Regions from separate parts of the Homo sapiens genome. Here region 2 is linked to region 1. The links are contacts of gene promoters, found by promoter capture Hi-C in blood cells and fetal thymus (Javierre and others, 2016). All regions are on one chromosome and are shown on one strand. The core of a region is centred on a gene start or on the middle of the fragment in contact, and the rest is flanking DNA. Distances in the headings are between cores, read along the strand shown.

Region 1 (4,673 bases), core at 963-3,462:
TGAAAAGATTCGAGTATAACATGAAAAGGCTATATAGAATCAATATGGAAAAACTGATGTGGGTCACAAAGTGACAAATATATGGAGATGAAAGTCAATTCAAAGCTCAGTTCAAAGATGTGTCCTGACCTTTACCTTTTTATCCAGTTCAAATAGTATAGGATTGTGCCAAATGTAGCATTAAAATAGAGCTCTGGTCAATGTTTTCTTATAAGGCTTCTCTGCTGTTGACACTTACTAAATATGTTAGCATCAAACGCAAGCATAAACAGTATATCCCCTTAAAACATACACAAACATTTGTGAATTTCTAACATTCCTTTGTCACAAAAATAATAGTAATAACTTGAGTATAAGAATAATTTACATCTTTAATAGCTGCATTTTCTATTCAAATAATCTATTGCCTTGGATTCCAAAATGATATTTGTGATATGAACAAAAGAGAAATTATAGTAAGATTAACCTCTAAAAATGTATTGTGAAGATTATGCAGCTGTTCTGTAGAATTGGAAATAATGGAAAATTGACAGTGAAATATAAAAGTAGATCATGAATAGTTAATACCCAATTTTTCCATGATGAAGGAATTAAAATAATGACTAAGTAGTCACCACAGTGACAATTTAAGACAAATTTGTCATCTCCCAGCGCCTAGCACAAGGTCTTGCATTTATTATGAGCTGAATAAACATTTGCTGGTCTAAATTTAATCTTTCCAGGATGAATGTTTATAGGCATAGTGAGGTAATAGTGCAACTATTCTGTATAAAGTCTACGGGTTTGGTATTAATAAAGGCAATACATTTTTGTCTTACTAACAAAACAAAATGGAATACAAGTGTTTTAAGTACGGTAACCAGCTTCCCCAAAGAAGTTAAAACTGAGAGTGATTGTTGACGGTTGTGACTGATGCTTGTTCTTGCCCCAAATGTTTCAGCACTAGTGCATTCTTTACTCACAGAATTTAGGTTCTGAGGAAAACCCTCATATGTCTTTCTGAGGATCATACACAGGAGACTTTAGCAGAACTAAAGCAAACGCAAAAGAATCCAGAATCTGGAATCTTCTGCATGTGATGCCACAGGTGACATTCTCCCACTCTGGGATGAAATAGACAGTTTCTCCCTTGCTTCTCCTGAAACCAGTACATTGGCTCAAGCTGTAGGCTCTGCCTGCAGGATGCACCAGCTCGTGTTTGAATTAAATACAGTGACTTGAAGAAGGAAGAACTCTACAGAGTCTACTCTGGCAACACCGGGAACAGAAGCAACAGGACATTCAGCTTCCAGAAACTGCAGCGGTGCAGTTCCAATGGTTTCTGGCCTCTACAGCCTGTATTCTTAGTGGTTTATGCTCCAATTTCTATACACATTGTTAGTAGCAGCGGTGTCTTCATGAGACTAATTCCGTGGTGTGATATTGTTTGAGGATGCTTATGTTCGTAGTCATGGAAATTTAGTGATTGCCTCCCCAGCATTCATTCTCTCTGTTCCCTTTCTGATGGGGACATGCAGATTGGTTGGGACTAATCTCACAGCAGCTCCAGGGATGGGCCCTAGTTACAGTGGTTGGGATGGCATTATGATCCAAACTTTGTCAAAAAGAGAGAAGATGTTTGATGGGGAGCATCTGGAGAATAAAATTATTCTGTCTTTCATGGATGCTAAAAAAAGATGCTCCCTTCATCCACTGGTTGTGAATCAGGAAGCAACCACCCCAGTTGTTCTGGTAACTATGTTGATATGGTGAAGCTATCAAAATAGTTTTAGGGCTATTCTGCCACTGGGGAAGGCTGAGACACAGAAAGGAAGTCGGTCCTGGGACATCATTAAACTGCTGGAGCAAGCTTACCTGAAGGGTCATCTGGTAAGCAGATATGGAGATGGAATTACCAGTGTCCAAGCTTTATTGAGGTAATGTTTGTGAAAGATAAAAGCAAGGCACAGGAAATATATGGGCAGCAAAACCCTTCAGACCTTGATCCAGGCCTGACACCTGTGAAAACAAAGGGAAACCCCGCAGGATTGGGCAGGAAGGGCCTCAAACTGTGATGCAGATTTCATAAAGTCTCTGCCAGCACCAAAGGGAGATCTAGAGCAAAAGCTGCTTGTTGGAAGAGTATGACAATGGGCGGAAATGCCCAGACACTAGTACTCCCACTGTACTTATTCGCCAGGGCTGTCGAGAAAGCTCAACACTGTTGTTCCAACTCAACACTGTAGAGGACCCTTAATGCCCACTGGCTGGCGGCTGTCAGTTACCGGCATCCTGCACACGTGGATAGTTTGTTCTTTTTTGAAGGGAGATCCAAGTAAGTAGTACACCTCCTTCCATTTCTGGGTTTCTTAAATTACTTGAACCACAAAATCTTTATATTATTACTGTTGTTGCTGTTATTATGATTTAAACAGTTAGACCGATTTTCTGTTACCTGTGAGCAAAGGAACTGTGATTGGTATGTGAAGTAATATTTTTAGATTTAAAAAGATTGTCAGTTCAGTTTAACATATACTTAAGAGGCAAGATACTTTAGTTATATTATCTCTGACCTTCAAAAACAAACAAATGAACAAACTCACAAATGCAGAGCTTATCACAGAACTGTTATGTGGTTGGAACTAATAAATGATAGCTATGATGATTCATCTCCATTTCAGTTATATTGCTCTTCAGTGTTTAATAATGGTAATTGGGTTTTTAGTTCCCAAAATGTGACTTTTTTTCTTGCACAGAAGTTAATGCTGATAGTTTCTTATGATTGTGTTAATGTTGAACTGACAAAAGGTATAAATTTTATAACTTAGTTTTTATAAGCCTTTACTTTTAACTCACAAATCTTGTTGCTATATTTGCAAATCTAATAATGGTGTAAGAATTTTAAGCACTTAACTTCATTTGTTATTTAATTAATGCTCAATTAGTTTATAAATTTTATGGATCAGATCTCTCAAATGTTAACAGTATATAGAAACTTTATTAACTAGATATTTTTAGACATTTCAAACAATTATTACCAATTTGAAAACCAGTTCTCCCAAATAATTCAAACACCTATTAAGCAAACTTACAAGTCTAACATGCAAGATATTTGCAATCTTTGTGAAAATCTAATAAATTTAATAAATTAGACAAATTTAATAAAGCAGATTCTCTTATCCATTTCAAACATCTTAAAGCAGATAAAGCATATATGAAGCAACACAATGACTATAAAATAGCTTACACATGCAAAAATCAATTCCACTTAAATCTATACTTCCTGGAGTTGGACACTTAGTTACCCAACTAAGAGGATGGTTACCCAAGTAACCATCATCAAGGGCCTGCTGTGGTTACTTGTGTAAAACTTGGGATCATCAGAAGGTTACCAACTCAGGTTGGGGTAGGGACTGTGGCCTGGGGACACTATCTAGGTGTTACTTAAAGAATGGTACTTCCTAAGCCACCAAATAATACCTTCCAAGTCTCCTCCTATAATCTGGTTTTAGTTGCTTCATCCCTGGCACACTCCAAGCTTGTAGATCTCAACTGGGATACAATTTAGTTTCACAACTCAATTTATCATGTGTCTGTCAAGTTTCATCTTTACCTACATTTTCAACTTTGTATTATTTGATTTCCATAGATGGAATCTGAATTCTCTAGCTATATTGTAACTTACATCTTTGCTGCCTGATTTGACATAAGAAATTCAGCACCCTCTTTTTTTGTGTGTCTCAGCTCTATCCCAAAGTAATTTTTGGAGAACAAAAACATCTTTTCTGCTCTTAAGTTGTTATCATTCTAGTAGAGAGAGCCAAGACATATACAAAAATCACCTACACTAAAAGGCAAAAATGAAGAAGACCATAAAAGTGTTGTAAGCAAATTTCTGTAAGATCACTGTGATAGAATTCTAAGATGGTCCCAATGAACGTTGCCCCCTGGTGTTACTCCTGAAATTATGTTACCTCACGTGGCAAAAAAAGGATTTTCCAGAGTAACTGAGGTTAGTAATTAGTTGACCTGAAGACAGGAAAGCTTTCCAGGTGGACCTAACCTAAACACATGAGCCCTTTAAAAGAAGGGAGTTTTCTCTGGCTGGTAGCAGAAGAGGAAGTCAGAGAGTAAAGCAAGAGAGAGAAGGAATGTGCAGGAAGCTGTCTGTTGTTGAGATGGAGACAGCCCCAGGGGAAGGAGCTGAGAGTGGCCTCTAAGGGCTGAGAGTGGTTCCCTAAGTGACAGCCTCCAGGGAAATGGAGATCTCCATCATAACCACAAGGAATGGAATTATGCCAACAGTATGAATGAGTTTGGAAGGAATTCTTCCCCAGAGACTCCAAAGAAGAGCCTAAACTGACACTTTGATTTTAGCTTTAGGAAACCCTAAGCAGAGAACTCAATTGGGCCTGCCCAGACTTCTGACCTACAGAACTCTGAGCTCATAAATGGATGCTGGTTAAAGTTGCTATGTTTGCAGTAATTTTTTATGCAAAAATAAAAAACAAATACAATCACAGAAAATTTCTACTTCGGCTTAAAGACTCAGTTTATTAAATTTTAACATGTGCGTGCGTGTGTGTGTGTGTGTGTGTGTGTGTGTGTTTATATGAAAGCATCTTTTCAGGTAGGGAGATCTCAGACTCTAACATCTAGTGTTTTCACGTGGAACTAGTTGATGAGACTAAAAA
Region 2 (4,673 bases), core at 772-3,271, 510 kb after region 1:
CTCAATGGCTGCCTTCTTGGCCTTCTCTTCTGCATTTTGACACTCCTGCACCACCTCTTCAGCTTCTTTCTGCATCCGGGCAACATCAGCCTCCAGTTTCTTCTTCTGGCTGAGGAGGCTTGTGTTCTAAAGAAAAGCAGCATTCCTATTAGGCAAGTAAAAACCAGCAATGCAAATGCAAGCTGGTCTGTTCAGGACATGCAATGGGAGTCAGCTCTGGCCAGAAGCAAATTTTATTATAGTGAGCCATAGTCCCTTAAGCAGTGCTCCCAATCCCGAAAGGCTTTTGCCATCAAACTTGAATGGAAGGGATTTCACCCATTAGAAGTTCAAGACTAAAGAGATGGCAGCCTGAATCAGAAGGGAAGAAGGGTATCTAGATAACCTACAAGCCCCAAACGTGTTTGGTTTTCAATGGGTTGAGGAAATGTTTCTCTGCCACTTGCTTTTGGATGTGGTAGAAACAAGTGTTCTAGAGCAGAAGTTGGGGTCAGTTGCAGACATCTGAGGAGCAGAGGTTGGGGAATAAAAATTGTAACTCCAAGTATGCTGCTCCAGAAACAAACAAAAAAAATCATTCCTCTTCTTTTTGTACTTCCCTTCCTATCTTACTTTACAGTGAGGAGGTGGGGAAAGTAGTTCAGAATAAGCCTCCTCCAGCCCTTAGGTACCCTCATTACCACGGAGGATTCTTTGTGTTCTGTGGTTGGTGCTGCCCTAATTCTTTCCTTCCTGAGTTGTGACACTAGAGGCCAAATATCCTTTTGCTGCTATTTGGTCTGTGTTTGAAGCCCAGCTTTTCTGAGGGTGTGAAAACTCGCAGTGTATATAAAAGGCATAGGCTTTCTATTTTTTTATTTCTCCTTTCACTTTATCCGTTTCACATTCACTTGCCTCTGGCTAGTGCCTTTCTCAGTAGCAGGATGAAGACTTGGAAATAGAAGGATACTCCAGGCCAGGTGTGGTGGCCCATGCCTGTAATCCTAGCACTTTGGGAGGCTGACGGGGGTGAATCTCCTGAGCTCAGGAGTTTGAGACCAGCCTGGGCAACATGGTGAAACCCCGTCTCTACCAAAACTTTTACCAAAAATAGTTGGGTGTGGTGGCATACAGCTGTGGTCCCAGTTATTCGGGAGGCTGAGGTGAGAGGATTGCTTGAGCCTGGGAGGCGGGGGTTGCAGTGAACCGAGATTGCACCATTGCACTCCAACCTGAGTGACAGAGTGAGACTCCGTCTCAAAAAAGAAAAATAAAAAATAGAATGATATTCCAGCATCACTGGTTCTATCTACCCCATTTCTCTATGGCATGAAGCATCTTTATCAAGACTGCCATCTTTTGTCCTTATGGAAAGCCAGGCCCTGTATACCTCCTAGATTTCCACTGCCATGGCCTGAGAGATGGGGTGGAATTAAGTTGTATTTTCCTGAAGTGTTTTTTGGATGCTCACAGCACAGACTCCATAGAAACTATTTCTTTGTAGAGGAAGGTATAAGTACAAATACTAATTTGTTTGTACATAGAATCCTTTAAAATTTGCTAGGGAGACAAGGGTTTAAATCTTTGCAAACTGAATTACTCTCTAATTTGTTTTTTTTTTCTTTCTTTTTTTTTTTTTTTAGGAGAAAGGGAGTTAGGAAGTGCTTTGCAGAAAGGTAATCTAGATTGTCACAGCTCAAGTTTGAAAAAGACACCTGTAATCAGTCAAAGATAAGTTTAGCCTCAAATGTTAGTCCTAGGCTGGAGATCTGGAAATGCAGGAGGTAGCTAAGAAGGCTCCCTAAAAGGTTCAGTATGTTTTGCTTGATAATGTTCTAGTAACTGCAAGGTGCCGCAGCATGGTTTAGGTTGGGGAGAGGTCCTTGTGAATAATATCACCTAGACCAGTGCTGGTCAAAGGGTAGTCTTTCTATGAGCAGTAGCACCTGAGAACATGTTCACTTTCTAGGTCCCATTGCAGAGCTTCTGATTTAGTGGATCTGGGGTGAGATCTGAGAATTTACATTTTTGTGTTAGGGATTCTTATATGTACACATCAAGTTTCAGAAACTCTGCCCTAGAGACCAGGTCTCCTCTACCTAATTTTCTTCTTCCCCAAATCCTCTCCTCTCTATGAATGCTTTTTCTCTAGCTGATCCTCATCTCTCTCTAGGCTAGTGATTTTGCATCATATTGGATCCCACTGGTGCATTATCATGTATGATATGCATGGCAAATGATTTGTTACCAACAGCAATTAAGTACTATAGACCAGCGGTCCCCAACCCATTTGGTTTCATGGAAGAAAATTTTTCCATAGACCAGGTAGCAGGGTTGGGGGGAGACGGTTTGGGGATGAAACTGTTCCACCTCAGATTATGAGGCATTAGATTCTCCTAAGGAGCATGCAACCTACATCTCTCACATGAGCAGTTCATAAGAGCATTTGCACTCCTATGAGAATCTAGTGCTGCTGCTGATCTGACAGGAGGCAAAGCTCTCTCCCCTGCAGCTCACCTCCTGCTGTGCAGCCCAGTTCCTAATAGGCCCCAGACCTGTACTGGTCTGTGGCCCAGGGATTGGGAAACCTTGTTCTAGACAGTGGATGAGTTACTTTTTTAAAAAAAGTCTGTAGTCTATTTTATAAGAATCCAACTCATTGTATTTAAACTTTCTTGAAGGAGAAAAAAAAAATGTTTGAGTTAGCCTGTTGGGAATTATCTATAACCTACAGACTATTTGTTCTATACCACATGGTACCCAGACGGGATTGTGTCATACACATGGACACAAAAGTCAAACTGTAGGCACAAACTAATTACAACATCTTTCAACAGGCACATTTCTGGTTTATACTTTCTTTTATCCAGTATTTTTCAGTAGGGGGAACATTGGCATTCTGGAAGGGGCAGTTCCTTGGGATTATCCTTCACCTTGAAGGAGTTTTGGTATCTCTGGACCCTACTCACTAAATGCCAGTGGTATTTCCCAGTCACTGTGGCAACTAAAATGATCCCACAGATGTTTCTAAATGCCCCAGAGTGTAGCAGTTCTGCCCCTAGGTGCTTTAATCTGTCCTTCACAATAATCACCACAGTAAAACTTCCTAAAATGCAAATCTGATAACTTCACTCTTAGCTACTCAAAATTCTTCAGTGGCTCTCCATGAGCTGCAAGATAAAATTCAAACTCCATCACTCTCAGGCTCAGGGTCACTGGTGACCTGGCCCCACCTATCTCAGCATGATTTCTGATCCTTCTGGCTATCCACCGAATACTCTAGCATGTGAATTTCCCTTAGAATCCTAAACTCCTTCCCCCTGCCCCCATGTCTCTGCCCTTGACTTTCCTCTCTACCTGGCTGGCTTCTTACATGTCCTTCATGACTCAGAAGAAGCATACTGTGCAGCTACCTAACTCTTGGATTGTCAAAGAAGGCTTTCTGTAGGGGTGTGCTTGCTATATCATTATACTTTTAGCAGTGTACTACAATTGCTTAGTTCAATCTTCATTTTTTTAGGACAGTGGAGACATTCTGTGTCTATACCATCCATACCAGTCCAGGTTATGGTGGGGGTGCCCTATAAACACTTATCACACAACCCATTTACTATAGATGTTTGTCCTAGAAACTATGGCTTCTTCTGATTCTAGGATAAGGAGAAGGATCTAAGAATTCTTGCTTCGTGTCACTTACATAACCTTCCATTAGAAGCCAGAGTCCAGACGGTGTATCATATTTGTCAGCAGCCACTCAGAATTGTTAGGGCTTTCCTGGCTCCAAGACAGGAGCATTGTTTTTATCCTGGGATGCTGGGGAAGCACATGGCTTAGAGAGAGCAGGAGAACCAGGAGCAGGAGTGGTTCTGGAACATTAGGGAATGTTCATCCCTCCCTCCCCAGCATCCTGGCTGTGGATGCCCTGACAATCCATTCTTCTGGCATAAGGCTTATTGTTATGGGTTGAATTTTGTCTCACACACACACAAAAAGATATGTTGAAGTCCTAACCCCTTATTTATCAGAATGTGACCTTATCTGGAAATAGGGTCTTATTTTGTTTAAAAGGAAGCTGGAAAAAAGGGAGGTAGGGGGTAAATGAGTTAAAATGAGGCCATTAGGGTGGACCTTAATCAAATATGACTGGTACCCCTATAAAAAGTGGCAATTTGGACAGCAACAGACCCTCGCAGCGGGAAGATGCTGTGAAGACACAGGAAGAACACCATGTGAAGGCGGAAGGTTAGAGTGATGCATCCATAAGCCAAGGAATGGCAAAGATTGCCGGTAAGCCACCAGAAACTAGGAAGGGGCAAGGAAGGATTTCCCTACAGGTTTCAGAGGGAGCATGGCCCAGCTGACACTTTGATTGCAGGCTTCCAACCTCCAGGAATGCGAGAAAATAAACTTCCGTTGCTTTACGCCACCCTGTTTGTGGTACTTTGTTATGGCGGCCTGAGGGAAATAACACACTTGGGAACAAATGAAGAGTATGAACATGCCTTGCTTCACAGGCACATCCAAGACTTAACAGGGCGACTGTGCATGGTCCAAGGCCGCCCCAAGTGTGGGAACCACTGCCTTCAACCAACTGGCCCAGCTAATAGGGAGAGTATATGGGCCCCACCTGGGTATAGAAAAGATTGATTCTTTCTGTTGCTTCCAGGAGCTCTTCTTCTGACAGCCTGCGGCCA

What was found. Contacts are between HindIII fragments. The CHiCAGO score rates a contact against its expected background, and 5 or more counts as called.
Region 2: a contact is called between a fragment that was not itself captured here and the fragment with the promoter of LINC00636 in region 1, in 6 of 17 cell types (activated CD4 T cells, naive B cells, M0 macrophages and 3 more). The highest score is 5.8, in activated CD4 T cells.

The regions. Positions count from the first base shown.
Region 1 is chr3:107,880,993-107,885,665 of GRCh38, forward strand. LINC00636 (long intergenic non-protein coding RNA 636) reads left to right here and starts at 2,213. Exons shown (of 3, transcript NR_015394.1): 1 at 2,213-2,314. The HindIII fragment of the contact is 1,611 bases long and covers 1,905-3,515 here.
Region 2 is chr3:108,394,031-108,398,703 of GRCh38, forward strand. MYH15 (myosin heavy chain 15) reads right to left here. Exons shown (of 41, transcript NM_014981.3): 35 at 4,607-4,673; 36 at 1-126. Among named protein-coding and RNA genes, the nearest start is that of HHLA2, 100 kb to the left of the region's middle. The HindIII fragment of the contact is 6,952 bases long and covers 1-4,673 here.